2 separate regions of the Homo sapiens genome follow, and region 2 is linked to region 1. Evidence: promoter capture Hi-C in 16 types of primary human blood cells and fetal thymus (Javierre and others, 2016). All regions are on one chromosome and are shown on one strand. Each heading gives the region's core, a stretch centred on a gene start or on the middle of the fragment in contact. The rest is flanking DNA. Distances are from core to core; before and after follow the strand shown. Region 1 holds the start of GPD2 (glycerol-3-phosphate dehydrogenase 2). Region 2 overlaps LOC105373710 (a long non-coding RNA gene).

Evidence for each region. Contacts are between HindIII fragments. The CHiCAGO score rates a contact against its expected background, and 5 or more counts as called.
Region 2: a fragment that was not itself captured here is called in contact with the fragment with the promoter of GPD2 in region 1 in 1 of 17 cell types (endothelial precursors); the score reaches 7.9 in endothelial precursors.

The regions. Positions count from the first base shown.
Region 1 is chr2:156,434,563-156,439,722 of GRCh38, forward strand. It overlaps GPD2 (glycerol-3-phosphate dehydrogenase 2), which reads left to right and starts at 1,817. Exons shown (of 17, transcript NM_000408.5): 1 at 1,817-1,951. RefSeq lists silencers at 919-1,088, 1,529-1,938 and an enhancer at 1,329-1,378. The HindIII fragment of the contact is 5,965 bases long and covers 1-4,260 here.
Region 2 is chr2:157,044,872-157,050,245 of GRCh38, forward strand. The region is part of intron 1 of LOC105373710 (a long non-coding RNA gene); the gene reads right to left. LOC105373709 (a long non-coding RNA gene) reads left to right here. Exons shown (of 4, transcript XR_001739755.2): 3 at 2,032-2,218; 4 at 3,830-5,374. Among named protein-coding and RNA genes, the nearest start is that of GALNT5, 210 kb to the right of the region's middle. The HindIII fragment of the contact is 700 bases long and covers 2,944-3,643 here.

The DNA.
Region 1 (5,160 bases), core at 567-3,066:
GCCTTTAAACAATCGCCTCTGAGCATGAGTGTGGGGGGTGCAACTTATGTCCCATATTCAAGGTCTCTCTGGGCCTGATAAATTTTGCATACCTCACATTGCTCAAATGCTCTGAACTATTTTTCTTTTCTCAACTACAATTTCCTTTTTCTGGTTGCTCATGATTCAACTGGGGGAGCTTTTAAACCGTGGTTCTCAAACTTTAATGTGCATCAGAACTACCCAAAGGGCTTGTTAAATCTGGGTAGCTCAGCCCCAGCCCCAGAGTCTATGAATCAGGTCACTGGAGTACAGTTTCTGTCAAGTTCTCAGGTGATGCTGATGCTGCGGGCTCCAGTGACTACACTTTTAGAGCCAGTTTTAAAATACAAGGACTTGCAGATCCCACGTCCAGACTGACTCATTGGACTTGGGGATGGAAATCTGGCATTCCACCCCTCCCTGCCCCCTCCCCCCAATTTTAATGTGTCCAAGGGTGAGAATCATTGCTCCTCTGTGGACTATGGATGGTTCCCTGAAGTTACTGAGTTTGGGATTTAATAAATATATGCATTCCTCTGGGTCAACTACAGGAATTCTGCGGTATTTAAGGACATTAAATGAGTGACTTAATACTTTATTTAAAAAAATACCACTGCTTTTTGGTTCACACTAATTTTCTTCCTTCTTTTGGAAAGGCATTTCCGTCCATCTCCTGGATATTTTCCAATACCACGATAGAAAGGTTATTAGTACAGCACCCAGAGGTCTTCGGAGCAAAGCTGTTAAAGAAGTGGGGTCCATTTGAGCCCCAACTTTGCCTTCCTTAGGTCCCCTTGGGCTTGTCTAGCCCTAGGAGTTCCAACAAGTAAGCTGGGCATGCTCAGTGGGCAGGGTCGTTTTTTTTTTTTGGGTGGCGGGGGGTTGCAAGTGGGAAGCCTGCTGTTCAGCTGCCGGGGCTCTCCGCCTCCCCCCACCTGTATGAGGCTGGGTCTGGGGAACCTGTGCTCAGCATTCCACCCCCTGGAGCTTGGGCTTGGTCTTCCCTGCGGGTCCCTGCGCTGACATTCAGGCGGGGAGCCAGGAGGCCTGGCGCGCCTCCAGAGCCCGCCGGGGGAGCCGGGCGAGGGTTCTGGGCTCTGACGGCGGGGTCGCAGGGTCGCCCGCCTCCTGGACACGTCTGTAGGCCTAGGGAAGCCTGCCGGCCGGGAGGTACAGAGTAGGAGAAGCCAGATCCCAGGGCGGACAACGAGAAGTCGTCAGGTAAGCCAGCCCCGCCAGCGTGCCGGCGGACGAGTGTCTCCTCTCCCGCAGGCAGATGGCCAGGGCGGCCCGCATGGGCGAGGGCACAGGAAATCGGACACCGCCACCGTCTTCCCCAGCCTGGCCTAGCTCAGGCTTTCCAGTCCGCCAGCCCGCTGGCAAGGCGGGGCGGAGGTCTGGAGTCCGGCATCGCCGAGGCACAAAGCAGGAACTGCAGCCAGGGGCGAGGGCCCTTGCGTGTGGCGCTGCGCGACCCCACCCGGCGGCAGGACCCGCGTCCCCGTCTAGTCACGTTCATTGGGCCACGGAGACCACCTCGCTCGCCGCCCGCTGTTGGCTTTTCCCTCCCACACCCCCGCCAACCCCGGCCCCGGTTCCCGCCCCCACTTCCGCGTTTCCCCGCTGGGCCGGAGGAGCCTGGGCCCGAGGTATCCGGGCAGGAGGTGGCGGCCTCGCCGCCCTGGTCAGGCCTCCGGGAGGGAGCAGGCGCGGGAGCGGGAGGAGGAAGTCGGGAAGAGGGAAGGCGGGGGCGCGGCCCGCCCGGCGCTCGAGTTACACCCGCCCAGCCCGCCTCGAGTGACAGCCCCGCGCGCCTCGCTGGGAGCACCCGGGCCGAGGCTCTGATTCTGGGGGGAGGCCGACTCCACCCTGGCTGGAGGAACTGGGTGCTCCTGCCCGCTGGCCCCTCGCGCGTGAGGATCTATCTCAGGTGTGTGCTTCCTGGGAGACCCCTTCCCCCGCCTCTAGTATTCTAGGGGGGGAGTGGTCCCTTTCTGACCCGGGCGAGTGTTCTGGGACTCCAGTCTTGGCGGTAGGTGGTGGCGGGAAACGGGAAAGATTTAGAATTTCTTCCCACCAGCAGAAGATGGATTCGCTCTTCTCTAGGGTTTCGTTGTTTATGTTTTGGAGGCGGCATTTGTAAAATAGTAAAGTGGCAGGACTTTTGGGGCGAGGGTTGGTACCCCATTGAAAGTTCATGCAAACTTTTAGCTTGTAGATGCGGCTAGTCTGATAAGGATTGTTGCTCCCTTCCGAAGCAAGAGTGAGAACGAGTCTGGAGGAGGGCTGAGGCTTCTTTGAGAAACTCAGCTGCTGGCGTGTGACCGTCCTAGGAGGAAATGGAAGGTGCACACTGATAACTTAAAACAGCCTCCACTCCCTATGTAGTAACTTCTACCAGCAAAAATAGATTTGCAAAGAGTGCTTTGGCAGGAAGGTGTAGCTGGGTGAATGAAGTGCTGCTCTTAGCAGATGGTCTCTAGTCTGGCTTCCACCTTGTGCAGTGGAATATTCACTCCCAGAAGAGTTCCAGAGTAATTTACAAACACAAATTCTTGCAAAGTGTTAGTGACATGGGCAACCCAAATCACACACAACACATTATAAATATCATAGGAGGCAGCTATAGAAATAGCAGCTAGTCAACTTATACTTGTATAAATAGGTGAGGGAAGGAAGTTAGTAAGTGACAGGGAGTCTTTATTGCTAAAACAAAACTGTTAGTATTTTGCATGTGTTCCAAGTTTAAAGAGATGTGAAGTTTCTTTTTGGCGTGTGGACGGTGCTGGCAGCTGTCACACTGGGCCCAGGCACTTCTTCGTAGCTACTGACCACTCTAGTCCCAGTCCTACAGTTCTTGCTGGCTACCACATGACATCTGGATGCCATTGCCCAATGGAGACCGTGTGCAGTCTGGGGAACCTTGTGATGTGGATGTTGAAACCCCCCTCTGTTTCTCACAGGGGCGTTATGTCAAATTACAACACTCCCTTGACTTTTACAAATCAACTCGTGAAATAATACAGCAATATTTTAATGAATAAATGGGTAAATATGGGGTTTTGGGTTTGAGAACCAACAATGGATTCATTGCAACTGTCCATTCTCATAGCTTATAGAGTCACTTTATTTTATAAAGAAATTCTAAACAGCATTAGAGCTCTGCTTCCTTCTTTCTCCCTTGTGATTCATTCAAAGATGCAATGGCTTGGTTCAGGAATTGACAAAAGGGCCACAGTGTTACCAATTGTTAGTGAGTGTTACCACCCCCTTTAGTTTTTTTTGTAACTATTTAATCTCATTGTAGATATTTTAAAAGATTTGATGATTATTGTGCATAACTCATGTTGGCAAACTATTATAACTCTGAACTTATCCTGTTTGGTTGTTTTCTTTCATCTCTAGCGTGTAAGTTCTATGAGAGTAGCAGGGCTTGTTCTGTCTTGCATACTTTCAAAACTCTAATGCCTGGAGTGGTGACTAGCTTGTAATACACCCTCAATAAATGTTTTCTCAATGAGTGACCTCCAATGCCTAGAGGGGTGACTAGCTTGTAATACACCCTCAATAAATGTTTTCTCAATGAGCGACTGAACTGTGGAACAAACTCCAGCTGAGGGTAGTTGTGGAGCGGGGAGCCAAAGACTTTGGCCTTAGGTCATCTTTTAAAACTCAGCCTCAATTGTCTCATTGGCAAAATATGGATAATAAATGCTATGACGTGTGTAAAATTGCTAGCAATGTACCTGGCAAGTAGTAGACTTCAAAAGACTAGCTTCCATCCTATATTTTTCCTTCTTATACTCAAGTAGGAAAATATGGGCAAAGAATGTAGTTAGCTTGAAAATTTGGGCAAAGAATTCTTGCATGTTGTGCATGAATTATCCGTACATTTTTTTCGGTTAGTTGAGTGTGTTGGGATGGGGAGAGGAGAGGCGAGTTAGTGGTAGCTATGGTTATTAGAGAAGGGAAGCAATTTTCAGATCAGTATCTAATTTCTCAGTTTTAGTTTTTGAATGTGATGATGTTTCTGTTTAGGTTTTCCAAAACTTGATTCTTTCTGTTTGTCAACACCTGGACTCATGGGGCTATCCTAAGTGCAGAAACAACACTTCAGAAAGAGGACTAGAAATCAAATATATGAACACTAGTCTTCTTAAATGAAATTTTCTGTATTCTTGTGCAGCATTATATTGTGTAATAAGTGCTAAATAAAAAAATAGTTAACCTCTTTTGAGAAGCTTACAGTTGTTTAACAAGGTAAAACATAGATGGAAAACAATTGGAGACCAACATAAGACCTCGTACAATCATTTTTCCAGTGGTAGGATGTTGGCCAGAACTGATGTGATTATGAAGGAAAAGGTTAATATTGGCTCAAGTAGTTGGAGACAGCTTCCTGGTGAAGGGAATGCCACTTCAGTAACAGAGAGACTTAACATGTCCTGAAGACTATTGGAAAGATCACCTTTGTTTTAGGAATGTTTGCTATTGTGTACTTCATTGTATGAAAAAGCCAACATAATCTTGTACTTTCAAAAATGATCTTTCTGTTGAAAATTATATGGGAAATCTTCAGTAAAATTCTGCATATGCAAGAAATCAATACTTGTCACTATGTCTGTGAAGTTTAAAGCTCAGGATTGGCGTGAAAATGGTAACTCTTCATTCTTGTCCACCTTTAACACACTTGCTTAAAAATGTGTCAGATAGGCCAGGTGCAGTGGATCACACCTGTAATCCCAGCACTTTGCTTTGGGAGGCCAAGGCAGGCAGATCGCTTGAGCCCAGGAGTTTGAGACCAGCCTGGACAACATGGAAACCCCATCTTTACAAAAAAATACAAAAATTAACCAGGCATGGTGGCACGTGCCTGTAGTCCCAGCTACTTAGGAGGCCAAAACGTGAGAATTGCTTGAGACTGTCTCAGAAAAAAAAAAAAAAAAAAAAAAAAAACAAAAAAAAAAAAACAAGCCAGGCAGGCACAGTGACTCACACCTGTAATCCCAGCACTTTGGGCTGGGAGGCCTAGGCAGGCGGATCACCTGAGGTCAGGAATTGGAGACCAGCCTGGCCAACATGGCAAAACCCTGTCTCTACTAAAAATACAAAAATTAGCCGGGCATGATCGTGGGCACC
Region 2 (5,374 bases), core at 2,044-4,543, 610 kb after region 1:
GAGGATCCACAAAATTTGTCAAAGAATTTTTCAAGACAGTTGTGTAGAGGACAAGCCTAAATAGTTAAGATTGGTATGGGTGGTAAGGGGTGTGGCCGGGGGGGAGCACTACTGCTTTTTGCTTTTCTTACAACTTTCACCATAGCCACAGTCAATGGAGCCGATCAAGACTTCAAGCCAGCAAAATACACATCTAACTTCAGGGCCTTTGAACTTTCGTCATGGGCCTTGGCTGGTCCCTTTCAAGGTATTAATCAACAATTACAGCCTAATTTAGATCATGGAGACTACAACTAGGGCATAGAGCAGTAGAACAAGTGAGGAGCCCAAACCAAGTACACGGAGCACCACAGCAAGAAAACTGAAGTTCAAATTTCTACTCTAAATTGTAGAAACACAGAGGAAAGAGAAATAACAGGCTGAGTGCATGCTTGGTGTGGAGTTCAAGCAGAGGTTTCTGAGATTTCTGTGAAGAAGTCAAACTTCCTTGGTCATTTCATATTTGGTGTTTGTATGTGTCAAGCTAGTTTATAGGTTCAAATCTGAGGCAAAGAGCATTTCTCTACTTATTTGATGTATTTTCTTCTCAGGATACAGTGTGGTATCCTGTTTATTCAGGACCTTCTGTAGTTTCTCTCCCTATCAGGTATGATTTCTTCAGGGAGCACTTGGACCTTTTCTAAAACTCATCTCTATCAAAGACTTACAACAGATTCCTTTACTTAGAGTTTAACTGTGCACAATGACAGCTAGCTAATCAGATAAACATCTGTACTAGTGCATTCATAAATGCTTACATGATAGTGTATTGCTCTTCTAAGGGATACATAATTTTTTAATGTTACTGTCTTAATCCAAACAATGGTTAGGAACAAACTTTCATACAAATGAGGACTTATGAAGCTCTTACGGTCATATAAAGGAGAAAAAATCCAGTATCTCACTAAGATTTGTCATGAAGCATACTACGTTTCTACATGATATTTATATGCGAAATAAAATCCTAAAAGTCAGTATGTCCTATTCAGATCCCTGCTCTGCCACTTACTATTGATCAAACTTTAATTATACAACCTCTCTACATCTCAGTTTTTTCATACATACAAGTGGCATAGTAATAATAGCTACATTATATGGTTGTTGTGAAGATAAAATTAGTCAAGTAATTTAATTAACTGGAAAAGCACTGGTTCTAGATAAGTGTTAGTAATTATCATTATTATGGGTAGAGAGTATGGTATATTGGTTAAGGACTCTGGCTCTGGCATTAGACATCTATGTTCAACTCCAAGTTTTTGCTACATATAGGAGGTTGGAGAAACTATTCAGTCTCTCTATATCTCAGTTTCTACATCGGCCAAATGGCTTATGAGAATTGTAAAGGTAAGAAAGACTGGATGACGCCATTTAATCTGCCTTAAGTGACGTAGAAAAAGATATGATCGTATACTATTGGGGTGATAATTTATGGCCTCGGAGGAGGTAAAAGGGCATATTGCACAGTCTACTTGTGAGCAATCACTTTGCTGAGCCCACAGTGATGATGTCAAGTTGAGGCCAAACTCAAGTTAGCCAAGTGAACCTCACTTAGCCAAGTTAACTCTGTGGGTCAGGTCTATTCCTCATATATTCACAAGAGAGAACACCAGCAGTGATCTGCAAATGCTGCAAATAATACCTGAGGAGTGAAAATAGTACCATAACAATGTTTTGCGGTTGCCTTCTGTTTCTATGTTCTGGGCCATCTCTCTCATTGGCTTTAAAGAAAGAGAAGTGTGGAAAGATTGCACAACACCACCACCACTAAACTGAAACAAATATAATTTCTAGCAAAGTTGAATTTCCACATGATCATGTTTAAAAATCACAAAAGTAAGTCTGGGTCTAAAAAAGTACTTGAGCAATTTACCCCATTTGAGAACTCTCTAGGTTTGAAATCTCATATTGAAGCGTGACTGCTGTGGCTTGGTTTTCCACATTTATCAGTGTGGGGGCACTGGCCATGATTCTTCTTTCCTTTGTCCTCCCCAGGCATTGGCACAGTCTTTGGACATGAAAATCATGGAGAAGGAAGAGGCTGATTGTTATCCATGATTAGGCAGTGCAGATATAGCTCAATATTCCAAATGGGATGTTTTGGCCTTGGAGTTAAGTTCCAAGAGCATTATAAAATAATCACCTGTATAGGAAGTCCTGACTTAACTCTATTAACAACTTCGTAAGTATAAGAACAATTATCGTACTATTTCATTTTGATAAATTTGTATTCTATTTTTAGCATTTTATAAGACATACATCTCTTTTGTTTTCTGATAATGATAAATGGAGATAAAAGTAAAGAATCATTTTCCTTCTCTTGATTACATTTGCACTTTCCCATTCCAACTTCTCCTACTCCTGACTACACCTGTCTTCAATATACGCCTAGCTTTTTCCTTTAACCAAATGTAATTTGTTCAAATTGTCCTTTACAAACTTTAAGAAAGCCTATTTGGTATATATGAGGCAACGCAAGGCTTTAAAATACTTAGCATTTCTATGATACAGCTCATTTTCAATGCACTTTAAAAATATTAGCTAATTAATTAATTAGTTCCTGATTACAAGGTGGCAGAAGTTCAAGGAGAAAATTGACACATTTCTCTACCTTTATAAAGAAAACTTGTTTATATAAGAGAATATCATTTCTTTTTTGAGTAATATGTACTGTTGTAAAAAATGTTGTGTTTTTGCTAGAACTAGGTATAATAATCATTAAAAATGAATAACAGTAATAATACTAGTATAAATACAACAATATTTTTCAAGGTGGATACATATTTGTTAGACTCTGCTCCTTAAGAACAGGAGCTGTCTTGTTCTCCTTTGTGGCTTGGCACCTAACAGTCCCTGGCCTGGAAAATATAAATACACTAATTTATAGGAGATGAAATCTAATTTGTAAGCTTTGTTTCATACAATGATAAACAATATAAGAACCAATGCAAAACAGCATTACTCCACATAAAAAGGAAAGCAAGGAACACAACAGTGTGGTTAATTTTCTAATCACAAAGTTATGTCTACATGCCATTAATCCTCAGGAAGCAAACTGAAAAAAAATTACCAAATTTGAGCATAATTTGTGTGTAAAAAGAGAATAGATTTCGCTTTTGATGTCATTTCATACAAGGAGCAATCAAGTTCATTCAAACATAGGTTCAAATATATTTTCTTAAAATAGTTACCCTAATATTGTAACAGTTGAATTGGTTGAAAGTGTAATTCCTCCTTATCCATCTGATGTCAAATAGCTAGATATTTCAAATTGACCTTTTAGTTTTACACATGAGTTCCTGATTTGAGATAAACACAAAACTAGGCTGCCTGTACACATAAACAGTGTAATTTCTTTTGATAGCCAAATCCTGTATTTAACAACAAAGACAAAGTGATGGATATATTTTTAAAATTTAGAGATAACATCATAATTTTATACAGTAAGTCATAATCCAAGATATGTGATTTCTATTTGGGAAGACAAAGTTCTGCTTATCCTCTCTTACTGAGCAAAACCAAACAACTGATAATTTATTCTGGCATATAATAGCTAAGAAATATAAGCACACGGATTGCAAAAGCTATCCAAAAATTTGAATTTATAAGCTTACCTATAGGCATTTCTTTTTTTCACACAAGGAGAAAAATAGATGTTAAATCCAGCAGTGGCTATTAAGATATTTTTTTGCTCTCTGAACTCTTTGAAAAGATGATAAAAATTTCTAAAACTTTTCTTCAGATAAAATTATATAAAAATAATACGAATACAACATTTTGCACTTTATTTCAGGAAAGTCACATACCTGAAGATGATCCTGCATGTCCATAGAGCCTAGGTCCCTCAAAAGATGGTGTTGCAATGACAGAAATTGAGACATCAAGAGAACGTTTAGCAGAATAAGTTAGTTAAGATGTAGGTGTGTCGAAAGTTTCAGGTGTCAGTAAACATCAAAAGAAAATGTAGCAGTAGCTAGAAATTTCCAGGCTGAAGATGAAGGTTAAAGCTAAAGATAGACTATTTTTGTCATCTACATGGAAGATGATGGCTAAAGCTATAAGAGTGAATGACATCAGCAAGGAAGAAAATACAGGAATAAGGAAGAAGAGATGGTGAAATGGCTACTCGTAAGGAGTGGGAGAAAGAATAAATGAGAAGAAAATGAAGAATGTGTGGCCAAGAACATAGGAGAAAAGCCAGGAAGATCAATGTCTTATCAACAGACAGATTTGAGCAGCAGGTACTCAACAGAGCTTAAGAAAAACAAATATTGAGAACAGAGTAAGGACTATTTCATTTGGTGAACAGGAGATTTCTATTGAACTAGAATAGCTAGGTAACTACATTTTCATGGGTTAAGAAGAGAAGAGGAGAAAGAACAGTGAGGAAGAGAACCCATTGTATTATTGAGGAATTTTGAAGTCAAATAAAAAAGAGATGTGAGTGGAATGACATAATTCTAGAGATAAGTGAAGCTGGAGAATGTTACATGCTTGGAAGGAAGGAGTGAGTCTTAGAAATTAAGGGAGCAAGTTCCTTCAAGACAGATGAAACGTAATGAGCAACAGAATGAACTAGATATGATAATGATGCAAAACTCTTCTTTGTTACATACAGGCTGGGAGAAGGGTCCACACAAAAATTCTGAGATGGAGATGATGGCTAAAGTTAGAGTTCACATTGGATGACTTTGAACTCAGTAAACTAGGTGAATTTGCCAGAAGATATGAAGCTGTGGGAACTTGGAAGCCCAGGACACTATGATATTGATTACAGGGAAATAGTTCAAAAATATCACAAGATTACAAGCAGCTGTAAGTGTCTTGACTAGCGAAAGACCTTGGATTTGTAGAGCATCAGTCTATGTATGTCTACAACAATATTCATCAATTTTATTAATCCAAGACTGGGTATTAGAACAGGCAGGGAGTTAGGAGAACTTGGTATTGACAGGGGCAATGTCAGTCAGCAACATGGCAGCATGCAAAGAACTTTGGTCTGTGAGATCAGGAATCTAGGTTCTGGGTTCATTCATTACATTGTCCTAGGCTAATAACTTTCTTCTTTCACTCTTATGTCTTCATTTGTAAACTGGAGATGCTAGACTATGTAATTTCAAATATGGTTTCAAATGGAAAGAAAATCTTATTCTTGAGGCAAAGTAGAGTTGCAGAAAGAGCAACATCTTTGTGGTCAGGCTTTACTCTCTACTTCTGCCACTTTATCGCCTGTGACCTTGAGAAAGTTACTTCTTTGCACCTCAGTTTCCTCATCCATAAAATGGTGAAAAGAGTAAGTTATGGGGAAATGTTAAAGATAAAATTTGAATAGTAGTCA